Regions from separate parts of the Homo sapiens genome. Here all the other regions are linked to region 3. The links are contacts of gene promoters, found by promoter capture Hi-C in blood cells and fetal thymus (Javierre and others, 2016). All regions are on one chromosome and are shown on one strand. The core of a region is centred on a gene start or on the middle of the fragment in contact, and the rest is flanking DNA. Distances in the headings are between cores, read along the strand shown. Region 1 has its middle 13 kb from the start of TXNDC2. Region 2 holds the start of TWSG1 (twisted gastrulation BMP signaling modulator 1). Region 3 holds the start of PPP4R1 (protein phosphatase 4 regulatory subunit 1).

What was found. The method cuts DNA at HindIII sites, captures the fragments that hold promoters and counts their contacts. A CHiCAGO score of 5 or more calls a contact.
Region 1: a contact is called between a fragment that was not itself captured here and the fragment with the promoter of PPP4R1 in region 3, in 1 of 17 cell types (neutrophils). The highest score is 7.0, in neutrophils.
Region 2: a contact is called between the fragment with the promoter of TWSG1 here and the fragment with the promoter of PPP4R1 in region 3, in 11 of 17 cell types (naive CD8 T cells, neutrophils, fetal thymus and 8 more). The highest score is 16.6, in naive CD8 T cells.

Annotation. Positions count from the first base shown.
Region 1 is chr18:9,870,783-9,875,214 of GRCh38, reverse strand. No RefSeq gene overlaps it. Among named protein-coding and RNA genes, the nearest start is that of TXNDC2, 13 kb to the left of the region's middle. The HindIII fragment of the contact is 7,302 bases long and covers 1-4,432 here.
Region 2 is chr18:9,332,891-9,337,338 of GRCh38, reverse strand. TWSG1 (twisted gastrulation BMP signaling modulator 1) reads right to left here and starts at 2,566. Exons shown (of 5, transcript NM_020648.6): 1 at 2,419-2,566; 2 at 1-146. The coding sequence starts at 109. It overlaps TWSG1-DT (TWSG1 divergent transcript), which reads left to right and starts at 2,870. Exons shown (of 3, transcript NR_183523.1): 1 at 2,870-3,202. RefSeq lists enhancers at 1,966-2,015, 1,778-2,278 and a silencer at 2,076-2,865. The HindIII fragment of the contact is 11,774 bases long and covers 1-4,448 here.
Region 3 is chr18:9,611,597-9,615,808 of GRCh38, reverse strand. PPP4R1 (protein phosphatase 4 regulatory subunit 1) reads left to right here and starts at 1,250. Exons shown (of 20, transcript NM_001042388.3): 1 at 1,250-1,331; 2 at 1,539-1,583. The coding sequence starts at 1,325. It overlaps PPP4R1-AS1 (PPP4R1 antisense RNA 1), which reads right to left and starts at 1,002. Exons shown (of 3, transcript NR_110773.1): 1 at 795-1,002. RefSeq lists silencers at 554-1,063, 1,164-1,433, 1,534-1,783 and an enhancer at 2,054-2,133. The HindIII fragment of the contact is 7,461 bases long and covers 1-3,696 here.

The sequences.
Region 1 (4,432 bases), core at 3-2,502, 260 kb before region 3:
GTACCTCCACGGTTAGCAACTTTATCAACTGGAGCACAGTGCTTGTACATATAGTTCCTTTTATCTTTAGTTTTATAGTTTCCCGCATTTCCAAAGTTACTTAACATCAGCATTTCTTTCTCCTGACACCTTCAGTGAAGTTATATCACACATTTGTAATATAGTTAAAGTCATGCACCACATAATGGCATTTGGTCAGTGATGGACTGCACATACAACAGTGGTCCCATAAGATTATAACAGAACTGAAAAATTCCTATTAGCTAGTGGCATCATGGCTGCCCTAATGTCATGGCAAAATTATTTTTAAAATAAATTTAGTGTAGACTAAAGGTACAGTGTTTATAAAGTACACAATAATGTACAGGCATGTCTCAGGCTTTTACATTCACCGCTCACTCACTGACTCACCCAGAGCAACTTCCTATGTACAGAAAGTGCCCTATGAAGATGTACCATTTTAACTTTTTTTGTTTTTGAGATGGAGTTTCGCTCTTGGCATCCAGGCTGGAGTGCAACGGCACGATCTCGGCTCACTGCAACCTTCACCTCCCAGGTTCAAGTGATTCTTCTGCCTCAGCCTCCCAAGTAGCTGGGATTACAGGCACCCACCGTCACACCCAGCTATTTTTGTATTTTTAGTAGAGACGGAGTTTTACCATGTTGGCCAGGCTGGTCTTGAACTCCTGACCTCAGGTGATCTGCCAGCCTCTGCCTCCCAAAGTGCTGGGATTACAGGCGTGAGCCACCACGCCCGGCCATTTCAATCTTTTATAGCATATTTTTACTGCATCTTTTCTATGTTTAGGTATGGATTAGGCACACAAATACCATCAAGTTATAATTGCCTACAGTATTCAGTATGGTAACATGCTCTAGGGGTTTATAGCCTAGGAGCAATAGGCTGTACTATCTACGTTTGTTTAATTTCACTCTATGATGTTCACACTATGATGAAACCACCTAATGACACATTTTTCAGAATGTATCCCTGTCATTAAGTGATGCATGACTGTATATTCTTTTTTGTTTTCTTTTTTTGAGACAGGGTCTCACTTTGTTGCCCAGTCTGGAGTGCAGTGGTGTGAACACAGGCTCACTGTAGCCTCAACCTCCCAAGCTCAAGCAATCCTGCCACCTCAGTCCCCCAAGTAGCTGGGACTACAGTTGTGCACCACAATGCCTGGCTAATTGTTGTATTTTTTTTGTAGAGACAGGGTATCGCTATGCTACCCAGGCTATGACTGTATATTCTTTTGTCACAATCTTCATTTCATCCTAGAACCCTGTTCTGTCGGTCGTTTTTTTCAAATTTGCATATATTATTTTGTGCTGTGGAGTCCTTTGGGTTTTGACAAATGGATGGGTTTTTTTTTGTTTGTTTGTTTTTTGTTTTTTGTGGGTTTTTTTTTTTTTTGACGGAATTTCACTCCTGTTGCCCAGGCTGGAGTACAATGTCACTATCTTGGCTCACTCTAACCTCCGCCTCCTGGGTTCAAGTGATTCTCCTGCCTCAGCCTCTTGAGCAGCTGGGATTACAGGCATCTGCCACCACGCCCAGCTAATTTTTTGTATTTTTAGTAGAGATGGGGTTTCACCATGTTGGCCAGGTTGGTCTCAAACTCCTGACCTCGTGATCCGCCCACCTTGGCCTCCCAAAGTGCTGGGATTACAGGCATGAGCCACTGCTCCCAGCCAATAGATGGTATTATTAACCACCACTACAGTACCATACAGAATAGTTTCATAGCCCTAAAAAAATATGTGCTTCACCTAGTCAGCCCTCATCCTTCTGCAAACCCACAGCAACCACTGATTTGCTCATTGTCTCTATAGTTTTGTCTTTCCAGAATGTCACAAAATGGAATAATATAGTATGCAACCTTCTCAGACTGACTTCTTTCTCTTAGCAATACGCATTTATGGCATTCCCATGTTGTTTTGTTTATTGTTTATTTCATCACTGAATAAAAAATTATAAACTTTAGTTAAACTCTGAAAAGCAGATCCTAAGACAAAAATTTGAGTGCAAGTAGTTTATTTGGGAGATAATCCCAGGAGACACTGGAGGGGGAGTTGGAAGGTGATCAAGTCAGTTGCCACTGTGTACAACTGAAGCTCACACCAAAGGCAAGCTGGGAGGGAGTAATGCCAACTCTCTAGACTTCATTGGAACATTTTGTCTAGGGGCAGTAAGCCTGGCACCTCTGCTTGCCCTAGGCACAGGCCCTGCATGTCCCCACAACCACCCTGAAAGCATCACAGGTGTTTGCAGTGAGCAGTCATCTGAGAATAGAGGCCAGTGCTAAGAAATTGTGCTTGGAGAGGGTACCTGCAATGTCTATTACAAGAGGTGAGCAGTATTAGCAGAAGAAAGATTTCTCTTCTAGATTCCACTCTAAAGAGTCTGAAAATCTAACTGAGGATCCATGGGTACCCTGCCAAGATAGAGCTGTGAGCAGTGGTCCTACTCTGACCACTTCTGACTTTCTAGTGTAATGTTTAAAGCTCTTTGGTGTAAGTATTTACTGAAAAATTCCATGTGGAGCTGCTTCGGTAAGATTCAGGGTAGGTGTAAGTTTGTTGATGTTTTAATACAAATATGCCACTAAAAATATTTATCAAATGCACCATAGTTCATGGTGTAAAGACGTTGCTGTCTGCTTGCTGTTCTTTGAATCTACCAACGCCCACCTTCTAAAGAAGCCAGACAAGTGAGCAGACTACTATAGGCTACATCTGCCTTCAGAACGAATGGAGCCACAGTGGGGTGGAGCAGGTAGAAAGAAGCAAAGCAGCAGGCCCCCAGTAATCATCTTTTAGTGTATTGTAGCTTCGACGTTCAGACAATGTTTAGATGTTCAGACAGATGGTCAATACCTTCCTTCCTGGGAAGGGTCCAAGCTCATTCTCACCGTAAGCAAATGTGGCATTCAGTGGGCCCTTAATGCATGAATGAATAAAGGCATGGATGGATTACAGCTTGTATAATGGAAAACAGTTGAAGAAGGTTTATACTAAAACACTTAATTTAAAAAATATTTTTGCTGAAATGATCTTTATGAACATCTGGCAGACCACCATCTCCACCTTAGCCTCTGAGTAAAGAAAAAGGAGAATCACTATATATTGTATGTATCAAAACATCACTATGTACCCCATAAATCTGTGCAATTATTATGCGTTAATTTTAAGAAATAAAGGAAATTGGAGAGAGGTGAAAGACACTATTCCCATGTTTCCAATACATCCAAAGTTTAAAATCATAATATTGAAAAACAAATGTTTAAACCAAAAAAAGGGTAAAATGTCACAGATTAACACAGTCCCGTCAGCACCATGCATTTCATGAAATGATGTTATATGGTACAAATCTCTCTTTCCCAGTCCAAATATAGGCTTCTTGAGGGTAAGATATGCCTTGGTATCTGCAGTCTTTACAGCGCAGTGTGGAATAACCCAGACACTCAATGAAAACTTGCACGATAGGATCAAAGTGCCCATATCTTGTGAGTTTCTCTTTTTTGACTCACGAAGGTCATCACAATTAACTTCCTGGTCTCCTGCTACAACACTGAGTGTAGAGAAGAAAAATGACATTTTAATACTAGACTCATGATGTTTAGTGCAAAAAATGCACTGTCTCTGGTGAACACGATTTGACCCTAACTTATAGGCTAACCTGCTGCCCCCAATTCTATGGTGACTCTGATTCCTCCTGGGGAGATCCAGGAAAGCCTCCTAAAATTGCTTCCCAGCCTCCGACGCAGGGTGGTATATTGCCAGGCAGAGAGGAGCAAAGATGGATGGCCTTCCAGTTAGGAGAAAGCAACCAGGGTGTGATGTGGGCAGGAGCAGGGACCCTGGGCAGCGATGGGGCCAGGATGGAGGCTGGGCTAAATGAAAGGGGCATTTCACCACAGGTTACAGAGTTGCAATTTTACTTAATTTGCAATAAGAGACTCACAGAAAGTTTTCAGGAAATGATACGATTTGCTGTGTACCTACATCACTCACTGCTAGCATATTCTATGCTAGCTCTGAGAGCCAAAGATAACAATCAAAGAGATCTACTGAGAAACTATCACTATAATCAAGATAGAACATATCAAAAGCCTATGCTAGGACAGTGGAAAGAAGGAAAAAAGGTTTGAGAAACTCAGAAATAGAATTTCCATGGTTTGGTCAGTGCTTGAAAGGAGCTGAAACTGGCTCTCAAATTTGAAGCCTGAGCCTCTGAGAGAATGAATGCAGCGCAGGAATGGCATTGTTAACAAGGTGCAACACTATTTGCATGCAAGAGGGGACTTCAGTACACCCATTCCGCAGCTGGAAATCAAGCTCTGATCTCTGGAAAGCAGTCAGGCTAGACAACAGTGTAGAAGCCAGACACCCAGAGGCAATAGTTGAAGCCATAAAGTTGGATGAAATC
Region 2 (4,448 bases), core at 1,317-3,816, 280 kb after region 3:
TGCTCACATCACTAGCACAGAGTGCTTTGTTACAGCTCAGTGATTCTGGAAGCCATGTCAGGAACATCAGGATGGCTAGAGTAAGCACAGCAACATAGTGTAACTTCATGTTTCTTCAAAGAAGATGATCAGTAACTCCCAGGAAACTAAACAAACAAACACAACTTTAATTCAAAGGCAAGTGCTAGGGTAAAAACAAATATAAAAATGAGAAACAAAACATAAACTAAGACTCATTGTTTGTGTCAATATACTTTTTCTTTCTTTTTTAGAGTCTTGCTCTGTTGCCCAGGCTGAAGTACAGTGGTGTGATCATAGCTCACTGCAGCCTTCAATTCCTGGGTTCAAGTGATCCTCCCACCTCAGCCTCCCAGTTATCTGGGACTACAGACAATACCACCATGCCTGGCCTTCAAAAAACTTTTGAGTGATCATTTAAAGATCATTCTCAATGAAAGATTATATAAACATTCAAAAATAAACAATAATTTTGTATAATAATGGCTTCATAGCCATCTTCAAGGACCTAGAACTCTACAGTTCCTCAGACTATCCAGAAATGGTGACTGTGAAAGTAGAGTGAGTATATCTAAACCCTCAGTAACTTGAGAGTATATCAGGCAAATAACTAGCTTCAATACTGCACTGCTACTATTCAACTTTAATTTTAGGTCCATTATTCAACTGTAAGCCCATATAAAACTATTAATATTGTATTATAATTTTAAGATATTTAATTTTAATTCTTAGAATCAAAACAAAATTTTAAATGGAAATTATTCAGGCTTATTTAGACAGAATAAAGCAGCTCAAAGCAAGAAGTAGAGTCCACAGAGTCACTTCTTAAATAATTGAGCAAATAACAAAAGGCTGTTTAATTACTAATTGCATTAAAAACTCTAGGTAATTATTAGAATGTGACGATATTCTTTTTTTTTTTTTTCTTTTAGACGTTGTCTCGCTCTGTCGCCCAGGCTGGAGTGCAGTGGCGCAATCTCGGCTCACTGCAACCTCCGCCTCCCGGGTTCATGCGATTCTCCTGTCTCAGCCTCCCGAGTAGCTGGGATCACAGGAGCCTATCACCACGCCCCGCTAATTTTTGTATTTTTAGTAGAGACGGGGTTTCACCATATTGGCCAGGCTGGTCTCGATCTCCTGACCTCAGGTGATCCACCCGCCTCGGCCTCCCAAAGTGTGGGATTACAGGGGTGAGCTACCGCGCCCGGCCAAGATATTCTTTTAATTCTATTAGTACCACACATTCTTCAAAGTTATTAAGAAGATACTACAGTTCAAAAAGAAGAAGGAAAAAAGACTAGCACAAACACAGTCTGACAGGGGCCAAACAGTATACAGTTATTAAACTTTAAATACGGGAAGATATCATTTCTTCAGGTTAAAACACCTCCCTATCAAACATAATAAATTAAAATAAATGACTACTGACGTAAGAGGGATAAATAGTGAGTTTATGGGGGCATTTATGATTACTCTAAACTTTTATTCTAAGTGTTACAAAGTACATTAAAGGAAAAATAATAAAAGGGTGAAAAGAATAAAGGGCTTTGGACCTGGTATGAGTCAATTTTGAAAGAGAAAACCCTGGTGATCGTTACTGAGGCTCACAAAGCATTCCCTAAAGACCGTTAGTAACTAATTTTCTAATGTATCTAACGCCGCATACCAAGTAGGATGATTTCTGGAGCAACCAGTACATATTTGCGGAGGCCAAATAAGGTTATTTGGAGACTAACTGTCGTGGAACTAGTTTTCATCCTACAACCATGAAAACTGGGATTTCCCCCCTTTCCCATCTTTTACGGTTGTCTTATGAAATGTTCCACAAATTCATCTTACTCCCCAAATTTCACTGGAAAAAGTATTCAAGTAACTACGACCATGTCGAAATCAGGTAATAGAATTAAAGGACTTATCTTTTCCTAAGGAGTTAGAAACCATCATGCATCAAAATTGTTTCGCATACATCACGCCCAAGTTTCTCGTTAAGGGAGATGGCACTGACAGCGACCAGGGCAGAGCCGAGCCTCTGTAGAGCGGTGCCAGGGCCCCGAAGGCGCCGGACGCCCCGCGAGGCAGAGGCCGGTAGCGGTGTGGGGGACCGGGCACCCGGAACCACCCCCACCCCGGCTCGGCCGACGCGGGCTGCGGAGGACGCGGGCCGGCCCAGAGATGGTCTGGACCAAAGCGGCGCAGAGATGCTGCTGGCTCCCGGCGTCCGGCCTGTGCGCCCGCGCCCAGCACCCCCACTTTGTCCTCCGCGCAGCCGGGCCCAGGCTTCTCCCGGCCCCCGCGAAGCTCGCCGCGGCCCCGGGCCTCTAGAGGGCCGAGCTCGGCGCCCGGCCCCTTCCCAACCAAGAGGCCAAGAGGCTGCACAACCCCCCAGCCGCTCCCACTCACCATGCGCCACGGTCCCGCGAAGTCGCCCACCCCTAGATCCCCGCCGGGTCGGCCGAGCCCGGGGCGCGCTGCGGCGGCTTTGAGTGCGAGGCCAGGCCGCGCCTCCCGCCGTCCCCTCAGCGCAGCGCCCGCGAGCCTCGGGCACCTTAAAGAGACAGGCCCGCCCGCCGCCCTCCTCCCGGCTCCTTGCTCCCCGCCCCTGCTCCCCTCTTCCCCTCCGCCCCCGCTGGGGTCCACAGCCGCCAGCTCCCGCCAGGAGGCGTCTCTCACTCCCCCGGCGCTCCTGTCAGCGCGCACGCCCCCATCTCGGCCCCGCCCACTCCCCCCGCCCCTCCCAACGCCACGCCCCCTCCGCGCCACCCGGTTTCGCCCCTCCCTCGTGCCACGCCTCCACCGCAGGCTCCCGCCCGCCCGCCGGCCCGCAGGCCACGCCCCCAGGCGCACCCACCCCAGCTGCTCAACGCGATTTCCCTTCGCGCTTCTCCGCACCGGGATCCCCAGTCCCTCAGGTTCCGACAGACCCTCCTGTCAGGCCCATTCTCCGGGCCCCCTCAGTTGCAGTGTTAAGATCAACAGTGTTAAGATTAAAGCCTTGTGATGTGCTAGCCACTACGCTGAGGATATGCCGTGTACTAAAATTCCTCAGGACTCCTCACAGCTGCCCTGTAAGGAAGCGGCCATGGCCGGGTTCTAGCGATGCGAGGCCGAGGCTCGGGGCGCTGAGTAGCCTAGCGCGTCGCCGAGGAGAGCTGGCACGTGAACCCCTTGTCGTTTGCCGTCAGAGGTAGGATTTATATAAAATGCGCGTTTCCTAGGTCTACCTCAGACCTACTGAATAAGGATCTCCAAGGGTAGAGCTTTCGAACTTCGTTCACCAATTCGATAAAACTTGCCAGGCTCCTTGTGAGTGGCTGGCGCTGAGCTCTGCATCGGAGCTCTGCATCGGGAGTCGAGAAGAGGGGGCGCCATGGATCCGGGCGCGGAGGTCGCGCAGCCTAGGTAGAAGGTGCGCGGTTAGCACGTAGGTTAAAAACATTGAGAATGACACTCAGTTCTTTCCCACAACTCTGGGTTGCTTTTTTTTTTTTTTCTTTTGAGACAAGGTCTCACTCTCACCAGGCTGGAGGGCAGTGACAACATCAGGCTCGCTGCAGCCTCCACCTCCTAGGCTCAAGCAATCCTCCCGCCTCAGCCTCCCGAGTAGCTGGGGCTACGGGCGCGCACCACCACGCCTGGCTAATATTTTATTTTTTTGTAGATATGGAGGTCTTGCTATGTTGCCCAAGCTGGTTTCAAATTTCGGGGCTCAAGCGATCCTCCCACCGCGGTCTCCTAAATCGTTGGGATGACAGGTGTGAACCATAGTGCCCGGCCGGAATTTGCTTTTTAAAGAAGATTCCAGGGTGATTAAGTTAGAGCCCGCTAGACCAGACCGTCCGCGGGGCACCTTCCCTTGGAAATGATGACCTAGTGTCAAACCCTTATGCTGGTAAATCGTAAATGCCTACCACCCACCTTTGTTGATTGGAAGGAAACAGAATGAAAACAGCTGATTGGCTGGGGGTGGATTGCATTACTGATGTTAGCCCACTTTTGTACAATAAATATGGGTTTTAAAAATCATCCTTGAAAATTATCCTAGAGAAATAATTAAGGGTATACCCAAATTTAAGTATAAGAATCTTATTCTTGGCATTATATACTAGTTAAGTGAATTAGGAAACTTCCGATCAATGCACTAATTCAGCCATTAAAAAGTGATACCGCAGATCAGAGGTTCTCAAACTTTTTCGTCTCGGAATCCCTTTACACTCCTGAAAATTATGGAGCATGCCAAAGAGGTTTTGTGTATGTGTGCTACATCTGTTAATACTTTCAAAATTAAAACAATTTTTTACATATTCATTATTTCATTTAAAAATAACAAACCCATTATATGATAACAAATATTTAATGAAAAATAAGTATATATTTTAAAACAGTAGGAAGAACAGCGTGGTTTTAGATTTTTGCTATTGCCTTTAACATCA
Region 3 (4,212 bases), core at 1-2,500:
CAACACATTGTCCTTGGTCAAGACTACAACGTAGAAAGGAACAAGCTAATTAACTACTTAGAATTCCCTCTCCTAAGAGACCACATCGCCAAAGTGGCACCATGACACAGCTTGGTGTTTTGTTGGTCACTTTAGGAGAACACCATTTTGGAGGCCTTGGGTGGAGCTGGAGATAGAGCCATGGAGGTAGAATCGTGTCGGAAAACCTGGGTTTAGCCCCATTTTGTACTTGGGCGTTTGAGCTAATCGCTTAAGTCACGTAAAACAACAAGACTAATAAAGTCTGGGATACAGACTTTAACACCTCAAGTGCTGCCAAAAGTATTTAGAAGACAAAGCGAATCATAGGCACCCTTCACCGAGCACCTCCTAGACATCAAGAACCATGCTAGGTTCCCTACATTCTTCATTTAATGCCAATAACCCCACGAGGCAGTTATCACCTTCATTCTACAAATGGGCCCCACTCCTACCAATTAACTGGCTGAATCAGGATCTGACCCCGGGCCTGCCAACGCTCCCGCTGGTGGATTGCCCGCCTTGTCAGCTCGAGTTGGCAGGACGTGGGAGTAAAAACCCGGCGCCCCAGCCTTCACCGTGCTGCACGAGGAAGCTGGCTAGGCAGGCATGACTTTGTCAGTCAACCATCCCGCAGCCGGGCCCTGGGCTTTGTTAGCAGCCACTTGGCGAGGGCCCCGGGCGGGTGGGGAGGCGGCGCTTCCTCCAAGAGGAGGTGGGACCCCGGCCCCGACGACCTCGGAGCCGCCCCCGGCCCCGGATCGCCGACGACGTACGTGCAGGCCTGGGGATGGGGCGCTGGCTGCGAGCGGCGCGCCCGCCGAGATGGCTGCGGCTGGCAGGGCGGTGGGCGAGGCCGGTGACCCAATAAAGCGGCCGGGCCGCGGGAGGCCCCGCCCGGCCGGGTTCCGGCACTCGCCGCAGGGTCCCGGCCGGCGGCAGGTTGCGCGCCCCCGTCCGCAGCGCTCGGCGTGAGGGCGGCTCGGGAGGAGGGTGTGAGCGCGCGTCGCCGGGCCGGGACCCGGCAAGCAGCGGGAAAGGCGGGAGGCGGGAGCGCCGGTCGCCCGGGAGCCGCGCGGAGGGGCAGGCGGGGCGGGGCGGGGCGCGGCCGGGGGCCCGGGCGGCCGGGAGCCGCGCCGCCCGCGGCAGGCCCGGGCCCTCGGCCCGCCCCGCGCGCGCGCCCCCGCCAGCCCGGCCCTCCTCCTCCCCGCCGCCCCTCCCGCGCGCGTCCACCGGCTCCCCGGCTCGCGCCGCTCCATGTAGCCCCGGCTCCCCGGGCGGCCGCGGAGGAGGGGGCGACCACAAGATGGCGGGTACGTGGCCCCCTGTTCTCCGGGCGGCGGCGGCTCCTCGAGCCCACCCGCCCTCCGCCGCAGCCCTGAGTGGCTGCCGGGCCGGGGCCGGCGTGGGGTCCCGGCGCGGGAAGGCGCCCCCGGGGCGGGGGGGAGGCGGGCGGGGGGGGGGCGTCGCGCCGGGCCCCGGGGCGCTGACCGGGCCTTTCTTCTCTCCCCTCGGCGCAGACCTCTCGCTGCTTCAGGAGGACCTGCAGGAGGACGCAGACGGATGTGAGTGGCCCGGCCTCGCGGTGGCCTGGCAGTCCGCGGGGAGCGGCCGGGGAGGGCGGGCGGCGGCGAGGCCTGGGCCGGGCCCTGGCTGGCTGAGGGGACGGTGGGCGAGGGCGGCCCCAGGCGGGCTGGGGTGGCGATCGGGGGGGAAAATCTCGCGTCCGTGAGGAAACGGCGCGCCCAGGTTCCGCTGGGGGAGGGAGACGCCCGGAGTAACGCCCAAGTTCGCTTTCCGCCCTTCGCTCTCTTCTCCCGGCGCCCCCGAATCGCCTGCGGGCTCAGCAGTGGCGCGGCTGTTTTGGAAGGAGAAGCGGTGGGGCAGGATTTGAAGTGGGGTTTGGGTGTGTTTCTGCCCCTGGTGTCCCCTTCCCCCGTCACTCTAGGAAGGAAGAGGCTCGCGCGGGAGGTGTGTTTCCTTAGAGTCGCTCTTCCAGGAGCGCCCGGGGGTCAGCCTGGGCCCCGGCTAGCCGTCTGGGCTCCCCGACCCGGTTTTGGATTGTTTGAGGATGACATACCTGTCATTTTACTTTGGCTGGTAGCAGTTTTCAGATGCTCCCGATTTGATTAGTGGATTACGAGAAGGTTAGAAGGTGTGGCCTCCGCAGGAATTACTAGGTTTGGAGAGCATATTTCTTTAATGCGGATGTTCAGAAATCACCCAGCCCTCCTTCAGTGTTAACAGTGCAGCTTTCCTTTGAGGTACTGAAGTTTTTAAAGAGTTGACGCTTTTATTTTTAAAAAGACAAAGTTTCTGACATTTCCTGATGGCGACGGAATTGATATTTAGAAAGGAATTTTTCGTCTTATATGTACTTTTCTAAGCCTCAGAAAATAATTTGGGTCACGATAGAAAAGACAAAAGAGTTAAGCAGGTTTGTATTGAAAGAAGTGACAAATTGCAGTTAACTTAAAATAGTTTCTATTCTTGCTAATCTTCCAAAATAGCGACCCATCAAAAAATCAATAGGTTTTGAGATGCATTTTAAAAATGCAGAGTGTGCAAAATATATAAGCGAAGATCATGGGATACATAAGGGACCAAGAAATTGTTCTGAGTTGAGATGATAACCATAGTAGGATTGTGGTCTGTTTAGTGGAAAGCCTACCGGATGCTGAGATTGACTGTCTAGTACCTGTATAAGTAATTTCAGAGATGGCTGCAGTTTGAAATTACTCTTTTAAATACTCTGTAGTTAATCCTTAGCATTGTCTAATGTGGTTCCCTTACTCAGAGTAAACTTAATTTTTAGATTCCTGGTTGTTTTGAGTAAAGTAAGGGGGATTTACTATTTAGATGGATTATCTGAAACGAGTAATTTATCTTTAAAGTAAATGAACCACATCCAAACTTTTGCTAAGTCTGTGTTTTTAGTGAGGTGGCTCAAAACAGCTCTCTTAAAGGGAGCAGTACTCATGTAGTGAAGGGCAGCTTTAACATTTTATTTAATGTTTACCTTAAGCCACTTATCTGCCTAATAGTAAGTTTGAGATATTATTTAAGGCATCTGTTGATTTCAGATCTCTTGCCAGGTTAGGATTGGAGAAATGGCCCTGATTATGTTACCTCGAGGAGGGCTTTTTATATTTATGTTCGACTTCGTAAATAGAAGATTCATTTATTCAGCAAGTATTTATGACTGGAGCAAAAACTTCTCACTCCTGAAGGATGAAATGCAGTCTCAGTTTCTTCCTTAGCCCCCAAGAAGCACAGTGTAGAGGGGAAGGCATACCTGTGAAAAATTCAACCATGAGTTTCAACACTCTGCCAGGTACTGGGGATGGAGCTTTGAGAAAGATGGGCACAACCCATGCCCTCTAGTGGTTTACAAGCAGTTTTGAATCTAGGTGTACAGTACAGTATTACAGTTACCACTGGAGCCAGGCTGCTCTGTTTGTCTTAGCAGTGTCTTTTTGGGCAGACTTGGGCAACTCACTTAACCTCCCTATGCCTCAGTTTTGTCATTTGTAAGTAGGCATAAGAAATATTACCTACTTCATAGAGTTGTTCAAGGCTGTACATGAGTTAGTGCCTCTGAAGCACTTGGAACAATTCCTGGTAAACAGCGATGATTATGATTATGTTTGCTGTTATGAGAAAAGAGCAAGGGAAGCTTAAAAGAAGAGCAGAGAAGGAAACACTGATGTTGAACCTTACAGAATGAAGGTACTTAAAGATGCTGCCAATGCTCGCAACTAAATTTTTTTTTTTTTTGAGATGGAGTTTCACTCTTGTTGCCCAGGCTGGAGTGCAAAATGGCGCGATCTCGGCTCACCGCAACCTCTGCCTCCCGGGTTCAAGTGATTCTCCTGCCTCAGCCTCCCAAGTAACTGGGATTACAGGCGTGTGCCACCACGCCTGGCTAATTTTGTACTTTTAGTAGAGACGGGGTTTCTCCATGTTGATCAGGCTGGTCTCGAACTCCCGACCTCAGGTGATCCACCTGCCTTGGCCTCCCAAAGTGCTGGGATTACAGGCGTGAGCCACTGCGCCCGGCTGCAACTAACTTTTTAAAGATTCTGTTTCCTGTGCATTTTAATTTAGGATAAAACAGACATTGAAGGCACAATAGTTATTTGCATATTCATAATTTGGTTGAAGGCTTTGTTAGAGTAATTGCTTATTTTTCTC